Regions from separate parts of the Homo sapiens genome. Here region 2 is linked to region 1. The links are contacts of gene promoters, found by promoter capture Hi-C in human tissues and cell types (Jung and others, 2019). All regions are on one chromosome and are shown on one strand. The core of a region is centred on a gene start or on the middle of the fragment in contact, and the rest is flanking DNA. Distances in the headings are between cores, read along the strand shown.

Evidence for each region. Contacts are between HindIII fragments. The study calls those that stand out against the background at their distance.
Region 2: a fragment that was not itself captured here is called in contact with the fragment with the promoter of KLK7 in region 1 in 5 of the 25 tissues and cell types used here (lymphoblastoid cells, neural progenitor cells, pancreas and 2 more).

What each region holds. Positions count from the first base shown.
Region 1 is chr19:50,980,083-50,985,169 of GRCh38, reverse strand. KLK7 (kallikrein related peptidase 7) reads left to right here and starts at 1,253. Exons shown (of 6, transcript NM_005046.4): 1 at 1,253-1,319; 2 at 2,713-2,843; 3 at 3,256-3,403; 4 at 4,683-4,930. The coding sequence starts at 2,771. RefSeq lists an enhancer at 964-1,518. The HindIII fragment of the contact is 14,004 bases long and covers 1,068-5,087 here.
Region 2 is chr19:50,934,707-50,940,472 of GRCh38, reverse strand. No RefSeq gene overlaps it. Among named protein-coding and RNA genes, the nearest start is that of PPIAP59, 10 kb to the right of the region's middle. RefSeq lists a silencer at 1,272-1,435. The HindIII fragment of the contact is 8,084 bases long and covers 1-5,696 here.

The sequences.
Region 1 (5,087 bases), core at 4-2,503:
GAATGATTTATATTCCTTTGGGTACACACACTGGGGCTTATGAGAGGGTGGAGAGTGGGAGGAAGGAGAGGATCAGAAAAAAATAACTAATGGGTACTAGGCTTAATACCTGGGTGATTAAATAATCTGTATAACAAACCCCCATGGCGCACGTTCACCTACGCAACAAACCTGCACATCCTGCACATGTACCCCCGAACTGAAAAGTTAAAAAAAGAAAAATAAATATTTGCTTATAAATTAATAAATGAAGCCCTCAAAAATGTTCTATTAGATAATGTTAAGTACAGACATTTTTGTTATAAATACATAATATACAAAGAAATCTATGTATAACATGATTAAAATGACCATAAGAACATAGATCCTAAACATGGCAAATATTAGTGGGGTGGGGTTAGGGAAAGCGTTGTTTTTAACTTACACCTCTCTGTTAGAGTTGGGAATGGGTTCAGGCGTAATTACAGGCACGACTGGGATCAGCTTGGACAAGTTCCCCCAGGCGGGCCAGAATTAGGATGTAGGGTCTAGGCCACCCCTGAGAGGGGGTGAGGGCAAGAAAATGGCCCCAGAAGCCGGGCGCAGTGGCTCACGCCTGTAATCCCAGCACTTTGCGGGGCCGAGGCGGGCACATCATGAGGTCAGGAGATCGAGACCATTCTGGCCAACATAGTGAAACCCGGTCTCTACTAAAAATACAAAAATTAGCTGGGAGTGGTGGTGCGTGCCTGTAATCCCAGGTACTCGGGAGGCTGAGGCAGGAGAATCACTTGAACCTGGGAGGCGGAGCTGGCAGTGAGCCGAGATCGCGCCACCGCACTCCAGCCTGGCGATAGAGAGAGACTCCATCCAAAAAAAAGAAAGGAAGGGAGGGAGGGAGGAGGGAAGAAAGAAAGAAAACCGCCCCAGAGAAGGACCCGAGCCAGAGCCTATTCTCTGAGCTCAGCGACTGCTTGAATCCCGCTCCTGCCCCTCAGACCCAGCGCACCGGGTCCCTCCCCCGAGAGCAGCCAGGAGGGACTGTGGGACCAGAATGTGCGGGGGCGCAGGAGCTGGGCACCGCCCGTCCTTCGGAGGGAGGGTGGAGAGAGAGTGCAGTGGTGCCAATTGCTCTCGCTGCGTCAGGGTTCCAGATAACCAGAACCGCAAATGCAGGCGGGGGTGTCCCAGAGTCGGCTCCGCCTGCACCCCAGGGCGCTGGGGCCGGGCATGGGGCGGGGGGTGATATAAGAGGACGGCCCAGCAGAGGGATGAAGATTTTGGAGCCCAGCTGTGTGCCAGCCCAAGTCGGAACTTGGATCACATCAGATCCTCTCGAGGTGAGAAGAGGCTTCATCAAGGGTGCACCTGTAGGGGAGAGGGTGATGCTGGCTCCAAGCCTGACTCTGCTCTCGAGAGGTAGGGGCTGCAGCCTAGACTCCCGGTCCTGAGCAGTGAGGGCCTGGAAGTCTGCAATTTGGGGCCTTTTAGGGAAAAACGAACTACAGAGTCAGAAGTTTGGGTTCCACAGGGAAGGGCAAGATCGGAGCCTAGATTCCTGGGTCTCTAGGGATCTGAAGAACAGGAATTTTGGGTCTGAGGGAGGAGGGGCTGGGGTTCTGGACTCCTGGGTCTGAGGGAGGAGGGCCTGGGGGCCTGGACTCCTGGGTCTGAGGGAGGAGGGGCTGGGGGTCTCGACTCCTGGGTCTGAGGGAGGAGGGGCTGGGGGCCTGGACTCCTGGGTCTGAGGGAGGAGGGGCTGGGACCTGGACTCCTAGGTCTGAGGGAGGAGGAGCTGGGGCCTGGACTCCTGGGTCTGAGGGAGGAGGGGCTGGGGCCTGGACTCCTGGGTCTGAGGGAGGAGGGGCTGGGGCCTGGACTCCTGGGTCTGAGGGAGGAGGGGCTGGGGCCTGGACTCCTGGGTCTGAGGGAGGAGGGGCTGGGGCCTGGACTCCTGGGTCTGAGGGAGGAGGGGCTGGGGCCTGGACTCCTGGGCCTGAGGGAGGAGGGACTGAGACCTGGACTCCTAGGTCTGAGGGAGGAGGGACTGGGACCTGGACTCCTGGGTCTGAGGGAGGAGGAGCTGGGGGCCTGGACTCCTGGGTCTGAGGGAGGAGGGGCTGGGGCCTGGACTCCTGGGTCTGAGGGAGGAGGGGTTGGGGCCTGGACTCCTGAGCCTGAGGGAGGAGGGACTTGGACCTGGACTCCTAGGTCTGAGGGAGGAGGAGCTGGGGGCCTGGACTCCTAGGTCTGAGGGAGGCGGGGCTGGGGGCCTGGACTCCTGGGTCTGAGGGAGGAGGGGTTGGGGCCTGGACTCCTGAGCCTGAGGGAGGAGGGACTTGGACCTGGACTCCTAGGTCTGAGGGAGGAGGAGCTGGGGGCCTGGACTCCTAGGTCTGAGGGAGGAGGGGCTGGGGGCCTGGACTCCTGGGTCTGAGGGAGGAAGGTGCTAGGGTCTGGACTCTTGGGTATGAGGGAGGAGGAGGTTAGGGGTCTGGACTTCTGAGTGTAAGGAAGGAGAGGCCAGAGAAAGGAATTTCTGGGTCTGAGGGAGGAGGGGCTGGGGTTCTGGACCCCTAGGTCTGAGGGAGGAGGGGCTGGGGCCTGGACCCCTGGGTCTGAGGGAGGAGGGGCTGGGGCCTGGACTCCTGGGTCTGTGGGGGGAGGGGCTGGGGCCTGGACCCCTGGGTCTGAGTGGGGAGGGGCTGGGCCTGAATGCTTTCTCCTTCTCAGCTCCAGCAGGAGAGGCCCTTCCTCGCCTGGCAGCCCCTGAGCGGCTCAGCAGGGCACCATGGCAAGATCCCTTCTCCTGCCCCTGCAGATCTTACTGCTATCCTTAGCCTTGGAAACTGCAGGAGAAGAAGGTGAAAGCTGGACTGGGAAGTCTGACCTCACCTCAGGGCCCCCACTGACCCTCTCCAAGGAGTCCCTGAGTCAGAACCCTTCCCTCCTCAAACAGCTTCCATCCTGGGAGGACCAGACTGTCGGCTGAAGCCCCCGCTCTTCCTGCTTCTGCTGACTCAGGGGGTCTCTGTCCCCTCCAGGCCCTGCCTCCTGTGCTCAGGGTCTCTCTGTGGTTCCCCAGATGAGATGCGCCTCCTGGGTTTCTGAGTGGGCTCCTTCTGTCTGTCTCTATCCCTATCTCTTGCTTTCTCTGTATTTCTCCACACATTTTCATCTGTCTCTGTCCATCTCTGACTCTGGGAATCCCTGAGGTGCAGCCTCAGCCTTCCCCTAATGCTAGCTACCCACGTGCTCCTCCATGTCTCCATCCAGCCCAGGGTGACAAGATTATTGATGGCGCCCCATGTGCAAGAGGCTCCCACCCATGGCAGGTGGCCCTGCTCAGTGGCAATCAGCTCCACTGCGGAGGCGTCCTGGTCAATGAGCGCTGGGTGCTCACTGCCGCCCACTGCAAGATGAAGTAGGTGCCGCCCAAGTCTCTGCTGGAGGTGCACCAGCGTCTCCAGCTCGCTATGGGGGTGGAAGGGCAGTCTTTCTGTGCCTACGGCTCTATTCTCCTCTCTCTGGGTCTCTGTCCTCCTCTCTCTGGGCCTCTGTACCCCCTCTCCCTGGGGCTCTGTCCCCCTCTCTCCCTGGCTCTCTGTCTCCCTCTCTCTGGGTCTCTGTCCCCCTCTCTCTGGATCTCTGTTCCCCTCTCTCTGTGTCTCTGTCCCCCATTCTCTCTAGGTCTCTGTTCCCCCTCCTCTCTCTCTGGGTCTCTGTCCCTCTCTCTCTGGTCTCTGTCCCCCTCTCTCTCTGGATCTCTGTCCCCCTCTCCCTGGGCCTCTGTACCCCCTCTCCCTGGGGCTCTGTCCCCCTCTCTCTGGGTCTCTGTCTGCCTTTCTCTCTGGATCTCTGTTCCCCTCTGTGTCTCTGTCCCCTTCTCTCTCCGGGTCTCTGTTCCCCCTCCTCTCTTTCTGGGTCTCTGTCCCTCTCTCTCTGGGTCTCTGTCCCCCTCTCTCTCTGGTCTCTGTTCCCCCTCCTCTCTCTCTGGTCTCTGTCCCTCTCTCTCTGGGTCTCTGTCACCCTCTCTCTCTGGGTCTCTGTCACCCTCTCTCTCTGGTCTCTGTTCCCCCTCCTCTCTCTGTGGGTCTCTGTCCCTCTCTCTCTGGGTCTCTGTTCCCCTCTCTCTCTGGTCTCTGTTCCCCCTCCTCTCTCTCTGGATCTCTGTCCCCCTCTCCCTGGGGCTCTGTCCCCCTCTCTCCCTGGCTCTCTGTCTTCCTCTCTCTGGGGCTCTGTCCCCCTCTCTCTCTGGTCTCTGTTCCCCTCTCTCTGGGTCTCTGTCCCTCTCTCTCTGGGTCTCTGTCCCTCTCTCTCTGGATCTCTGTCCCCCTCTCTCTCTGGGTCTCTGTTCCCCTCTCTCTGGGTCTCTGTCCCCTCTCCTCTCTCTGTGTCTCTCTCCCCCCTCCTCTCTCTGTGTCTCTGTCCCCCCTCCTATCTCTGTGTCTCTCTCCCCCCTCCTCTCTCTGGGTCTCTGTCCCCCCCTCTCTGGGTCTCTGTCTCCCTCTCTCTGGGGCTCTGTCCCCCTCTCTCTCTGGATCTCTGTTCCCCTCTCTCTGGGTCTCTGTCTCCCCTCCTCTCTCTGTGTCTCTGTCCCCCCTCCTCTCTCTGGGTCTCTGTCCCCACCCCGTCCCCCAGGTCTTTGCACACCCTCTCTGTCACAGTGTCTCTTCTGAATCTGTGAATGTCACTCCTCGCAGTGAGTACACCGTGCACCTGGGCAGTGATACGCTGGGCGACAGGAGAGCTCAGAGGATCAAGGCCTCGAAGTCATTCCGCCACCCCGGCTACTCCACACAGACCCATGTTAATGACCTCATGCTCGTGAAGCTCAATAGCCAGGCCAGGCTGTCATCCATGGTGAAGAAAGTCAGGCTGCCCTCCCGCTGCGAACCCCCTGGAACCACCTGTACTGTCTCCGGCTGGGGCACTACCACGAGCCCAGATGGTAGGTGGCCTCAGTGACCCAGGAGTGCAGGCCCCAGCCCTCCTCCCTCAGACCCAGGAGTCCAGGCCCCCAGCCCCTCCTCCCTCAGACCCAGGAGTCCAGGCCTCAGCCCCTCCTCCCTCAGACCCAGGAGTCCAGGCCCCCAGCCCCTCCTCCC
Region 2 (5,766 bases), core at 405-2,904, 45 kb after region 1:
ATGTCAGGGCAGAAGCAGCTGCCTGTGGGATCTCTATCCCTTCTCCCCTAGGTATGTGTCTTTCACGGTCTCTTTCTTCTCATCCCACCTCTGTTTTCTCATTACATTGACTGCCTGTTGCCTATCAAAGCATCTCTTCTCTCCCCCATAACTGGCTCCAGTTACTGGGTTTTCTTTGTTCATAGCCCCTAGAGAAAAAATCTGGTTGGCTGTCCTAGGGTCAGATGCAGACTCTATCTCTAGTCTGAAAGGTGGGCCCACAGAGTGCAACATGGATCCCCCAGCCACCCCTTCATCCATAGCAGTGGGCAGGGCAGGGCCCCTAAGAAGGTTGTGGGCGTGGTAGTCATTGAAATGGACAACACATCAACACATGGACATTCTAGTCTTCAGCACTTTCTGAGTGACCTGTGTAAAGGTCATTTGTACTTTTTCTGGACCTCAGTTTCTCTACCTGTAAAATGGGAGGATTGAAACGTAATGATCTCCACGTGCCAATCCAGCTCTAAGATTTCTCAAGATACTCACAGGTGGTTATAGAAAGTCACTCCAGGGAATACTTTGGAAATTGAACACTCTAGAAAAGGAATTACACTAGAAAATTTTGTCAGTAACAAAATACCCAACTCAAAGTGGGTTAAGCAATAAGGACGTGTATTATTTCACATAATAAGAAGCCCCAAAAGAGGGAAGTACTGTGGTTTGGTGATTCCTACATTACATCATTAGGGACCCATCTTTCTTCTCTACTGCCCTCTGCATTCATTCATTCATATATTTATTCAACTCATGAGCACCTATGAGAGCCAAGTAATATTATAGACACTTGGGATAGACTGATTAATAAAACAGACACCAAACCCCTGCCTTCCTTAAGCTTATGTTCTAGCAGGAAGAAGAAAATATGTCAGCTTTCTCCTTTAGGCTTGTAATCTCGTGGCTGTAAAATGGCTGCCACAGCTCCAGACATCACATCCTCACGCACCATGACAAAAGGCAGGAAGGAGAGACTCTGTTGGCAGAGCTCTCTTCATTAGGAAAGAAAGTCTTTTCCAGAGTCCCCCCACACCCCTGGATCTGTTCTTGGGTCTCAATGACCACTCATTGGAGAAGGTCCCAATGCTGACACTCTAGCTTCAAGAGAAGCTGAGAAAGTGAGTTTCTGACATTTCTCTGTCACGGGTGCAGTCCTTACCAGCAAGGAAGAAGAGATAAGAAGTGTCTGCCTGATGAACAGTCAAAGGTGTGAGAGAAGGACACATACATCAAAATGATCCAATAATTGTCACCTTTATCTTCCCCTTTGTGCCTAGCCATTTACAAGTCCTCACGACTTTTTAGGGGACATTCCAGAAAGACTGGGCTGCCAGGGTGTGTGGTGTGGTGTGAAAATAGGGGCAAATAGTACTGGGTGACAGTTGTAATTCAATGTTTGTTTTTTGTTTTTGTTTTTCTTTAGACAGAGTCTCACTCTGTCACCCAGGCTGGAGTGCAGTAGCGTATTCTCGGCTCACTGCAACTTCCACCTCCCCAGTTCAAGCAATCCCCATGCCTCAGCCTCCTGAGTAGCTGGGACTATAGGTGTGAGCCACCATGCCTGGCTAATTTTTGTATTTTTAGTAGAGACAGGGTTTCGCTATGTTGGCCACACTGGTCTCGAACTCCTGACCTCAGGTGATCTGCCTACCTCAGCCTCCCAAAGTGCTGGGATTACAGGCGTGAGCCATCTGGCCTCAATTTTTTTTTTCTTAATCTTAAAAAAATCTAGATAGGAGCAGAATCCTAGCTAAGGGGCAGTCTTGAGCACATTTTCCAAAATGATGTTTCCGGTTAAGCTGCTTTGAGGAACAAGAGAAGATTCATGCTGGCTTCAATAGTAAATAAGTTTTAATTTCACATATCAAGAAATCCAGGTAAGGGCAGCTCCAGACACAGGGCGTCAGGCTGTGTTTCGCTTGGTTCTCCTCGGCGGGGGGTCATCATCCTTAAGATCAACACCCGTAGTGGGTCTGTCTTTGAGAAGGATGATGCTTTTCCAGAAACCACCCCAGCAGAATTTTATCTTATTCTTACTGGCCAGAATTGGGTCACATGTCCTTTCCTAAACCAGTCACAGACTGGTGGGGTGGGGTGGGGAGTGGGGTGGAGAGGTTAACATGGTTGATTTGAACCAAACAGGATTATTCTTTCACGATGGAGTGGAGGACCTCCCCTAAAGCATGTAGAAGCTGCTCCTTGAGAGAAATCAGGATTCCGACATCAAAGAACGGGAGGAACAACCAATGATGTCTGCCCCATAGATGCCCTTGCAGCAATATTTTAAATTAACTTTTATTGAAAGATAATGCACAGGGCCGGGCATGGTGGCTCACACCTGTAATCCCAGCACTTTGGGAGGCCGAGGCGGGTGGATTACCTGAGGTCAGGAGTTCGAAACCAGCATGGCCAATGTGGCGAAACCCTGTCTCTACTAAAAATACAAAAATTAGCCGGGCTCGGTGGTGGGCACCTGTAATCCCAGCTACTCGGGAGGCTGAGGCAAGAGAATCGCTTGAACCTGGGAGGTGGAGATTGCAGTGAGCCAAGATCACGCCATTGCACTCCAGCCTAGATGACAGAATGAGACTGTCTCAAGAAACAAAAAAAGAAAGAAAGAAAGAAAGAAAGAAAGAAAGAAAGAAAGAAAGAAAGAAAGAAAGAAAGGAGAAAGAAAGAAACATGCACAGAAGTATCATAAATGGCAGTGAAGTTTCACAAAACAGAACACACCCTTGTAACCAGCATTCAGACAGAGCCACGGAACCTAAGCATCTCCTCAGAAAAACCAGTGGGGTCTTCCTTGCAGTCACTACCTCCCCTGCCAAATGTAGCCGCTTCCATTACTACCTAAATCCCTCGCCTGCAAGGGTAGCGACTTTCATGACTTCTCCCCAAGTGTAGCAACTTTTGTGACTTCTATCACCATAAATTAATTTGTCCCATTTATGAACAACATATAAATATAAATTTATTTACATAGACATATAGAAGTATAATAAGTTTATATAAATAAATCATTTGGGAGGCTGAGCCGAGTGGATCACGAGGTCAAGAGATCGAGACCATCCTGGCCAGCATGGTGAAACCCCGTCTCTACTAAAAATACAAAAATTAGCCGGACATGGAGGCATGCACCTGTAATCCCAGCTACTTGGGAGGCTGAGGCAGGAGAATTGCTTGAACCTGGGAGGCAGAGGTTGCAGTGAGCTGAGATCGTGCCACTGCTCTCCAGCCTGGTGACAGAGTGAGACTTTGTCTAAAAAAACAAAAAAACAAACAAACAAAAAAAGCAATGAGTGTCTTATATTATTTTGTGTTGGGCTTTTTTTTTTCTCAGTATTATATATTGTGTGGTCCGCCCAGGTTTTTGTTTATGGTTGTAAATGTTTTATTCTCATCGTTGCACAGTATACCATTGTGTAAATGTACTCCGATTTATTGAGCCATTTTTTTACTATGAGGAGACATTTGGATAGTTTCTAGTTTCTTTAACAGTTGTAAAGGTAATACACTTGTGGAACAATTGCTACAACCGTGATGAAAAGAAGAGAGGCCGGGCATGGTGGCTCACACCTGTAATCCCAACTACTTCAGAGGCTGAGGCAGGAGGATTGCTTGAGCCCAGGAGTTCGAGACCAGCCTGGGCAACAAAGCCAGACCCTGTCTCAAGAAAAATAAACCAAGAGTTTAGGAGAAACAGTGTGCTTGGTTCTCTGCCCACCAAAGATGCAAGCACTATCCCCACGCTGATTGTTGCTAATGGCAGAGCCTGGATGCATTTTCCCATCAAGTTCAGGCTCAAGGGCAAACAGGCGAACAGAGGGGAGATGTGTGTGGACTAAGAGGCAGAGGTTGGTGTTTTGTGACTTGTCTGACTTGGCACAGGGCAAGCTGGGTGCAACTGAGATGTGCTTATCATTCTTCCCACTGCATTACTGACGAGCCCGAGTATTGCTCAGATTGGCATATGACCTGGATACATCCGGGTGGCCATGTCATCCAGTTATAAGCAAGAAGACAAAGCTGGAGTTTCTGGGAAAGTTTTTGTTTTGCTGATAAAAGAGAAAGAGTAGGCTGGGTGTGGTGGCTCACACCTATAATCCCAGCACTTTGGGAGGCCGAGGCAGGTGGATCACGGGGTCAGGAGTTCGAGACCAGCCTGGCCAACATGATGAAACCCCATCTCTACTAAAAACACAAAAATTAGCTGGGCACAGTGGTGGGCACCTGTAATCCCAGCTACTCAGGAGGCTGAGGCAGGAGAATTGCTTGAACCCGGAAGGTGGAAGTTGCAGTGAGCCGAGATCGCACCACTGCATTCCAGCCTGGGCGACAGAGCAGGACTCTGTCTTAAAAAAATAAAAAATATAAATAAATAAATAAATAGGAGAGAGAGAGTAATGTTTGGACCTTTGGACCTTCCCTTCCACCTCTTCTCACCTGGAATATGGGTGCCTGGAGACGGACCAGCCACCTTGCATGATGAGAATAAAAGCCGCAGGATAAAGATGGGATTACAGAAAGCAGCTCACATTTCTGATGATTTCCTTCGGAGCTCCATGCATGGACTTCCTACATCTGGGCTTGGAACAGGCAGAATACAATCTTGGGTGTCCGGGCTACCGTAGTTGGTTTTCTATATGCCGATATAGAGAGGATGGTATGGGAAATGAAGCTTCTGGAAACTGAAAGATGAGCTAAGACATTGTGCAGATTTTCCTGGGCAGCCTTGACTTTCTTTTCCTGGATGAAGATGTCTTTTTAACATGGAGGCTGGATCCAGAACCAGGAGGGGACAGATGTCTGTAAATTGTTCCCATTAAGGGTGGAGGAGATCAGTGTATTTCCTGCATGGTGATGTAAGTGGTGAGAAAAATGCGGCTGTGGCGGTGCAAGAAATAAGCTCCTCGCCCTACTCGATATTAAGACATGCTACAAAACAAAATCAGTGTTTTTAAAAAAGGGTGGGATCAGTGCAAGAACAGACAAGTAGACCAGAGAGGCAGGAGAGAGGTCCCAGAAAGAGAATCATAGGAAACTGATGTATCATCATATAATATATTAGGGACTTAATATAAGATAAAATATCAACACAAATTAGTGGGAGAATGATGGTATATTTAGTAAGTGGCATTAGAAAAACTCGTCTGCTGTGCAGAGAAAAAGAAACCTAGATTTCTAATACTACACATGAAATTGGATTCCAGCTGTATTAAAGACCACTGAAAGATAATATTATAAAATTAATAGAAAAAATCATGGTGAATATATATTTATTTTATTTATTTTTTTATTTTTTTGAAGACTCTATCGTCCAAGCTGGAGTGCAGTGGCATGATCTGGGCTCACTACAACCTCTGCCTCCCCGGCTCAAGCGATTCTCATGCCTCAGCCTCCCAAGTAGCTGTAACTACAGGCACATGCCACTACGTCCAGCTGCTTTTTCTATTTTTGGGTAGAGATGGGGGTTTTGCCATGTTGGCCAGGCTGGTCTCAAACTACTGACCTTAAGTGATCCTCCTGCCTTGGCATCCCTGTGCTGGGAATACAGGCATGAGCCACAACACCCGGCCTATTTTTGAATCTCTGTGATAGGGGATGACTTCTTAAGACCTAAAAAAAACACACATCATATGACAAAACATTGATTAGTTTGATTATTTTAAAATTAAACACTTTGGTTTAAGAGAAGGTAAGGACGATTCATAGGCATTTATCAGAATGGGA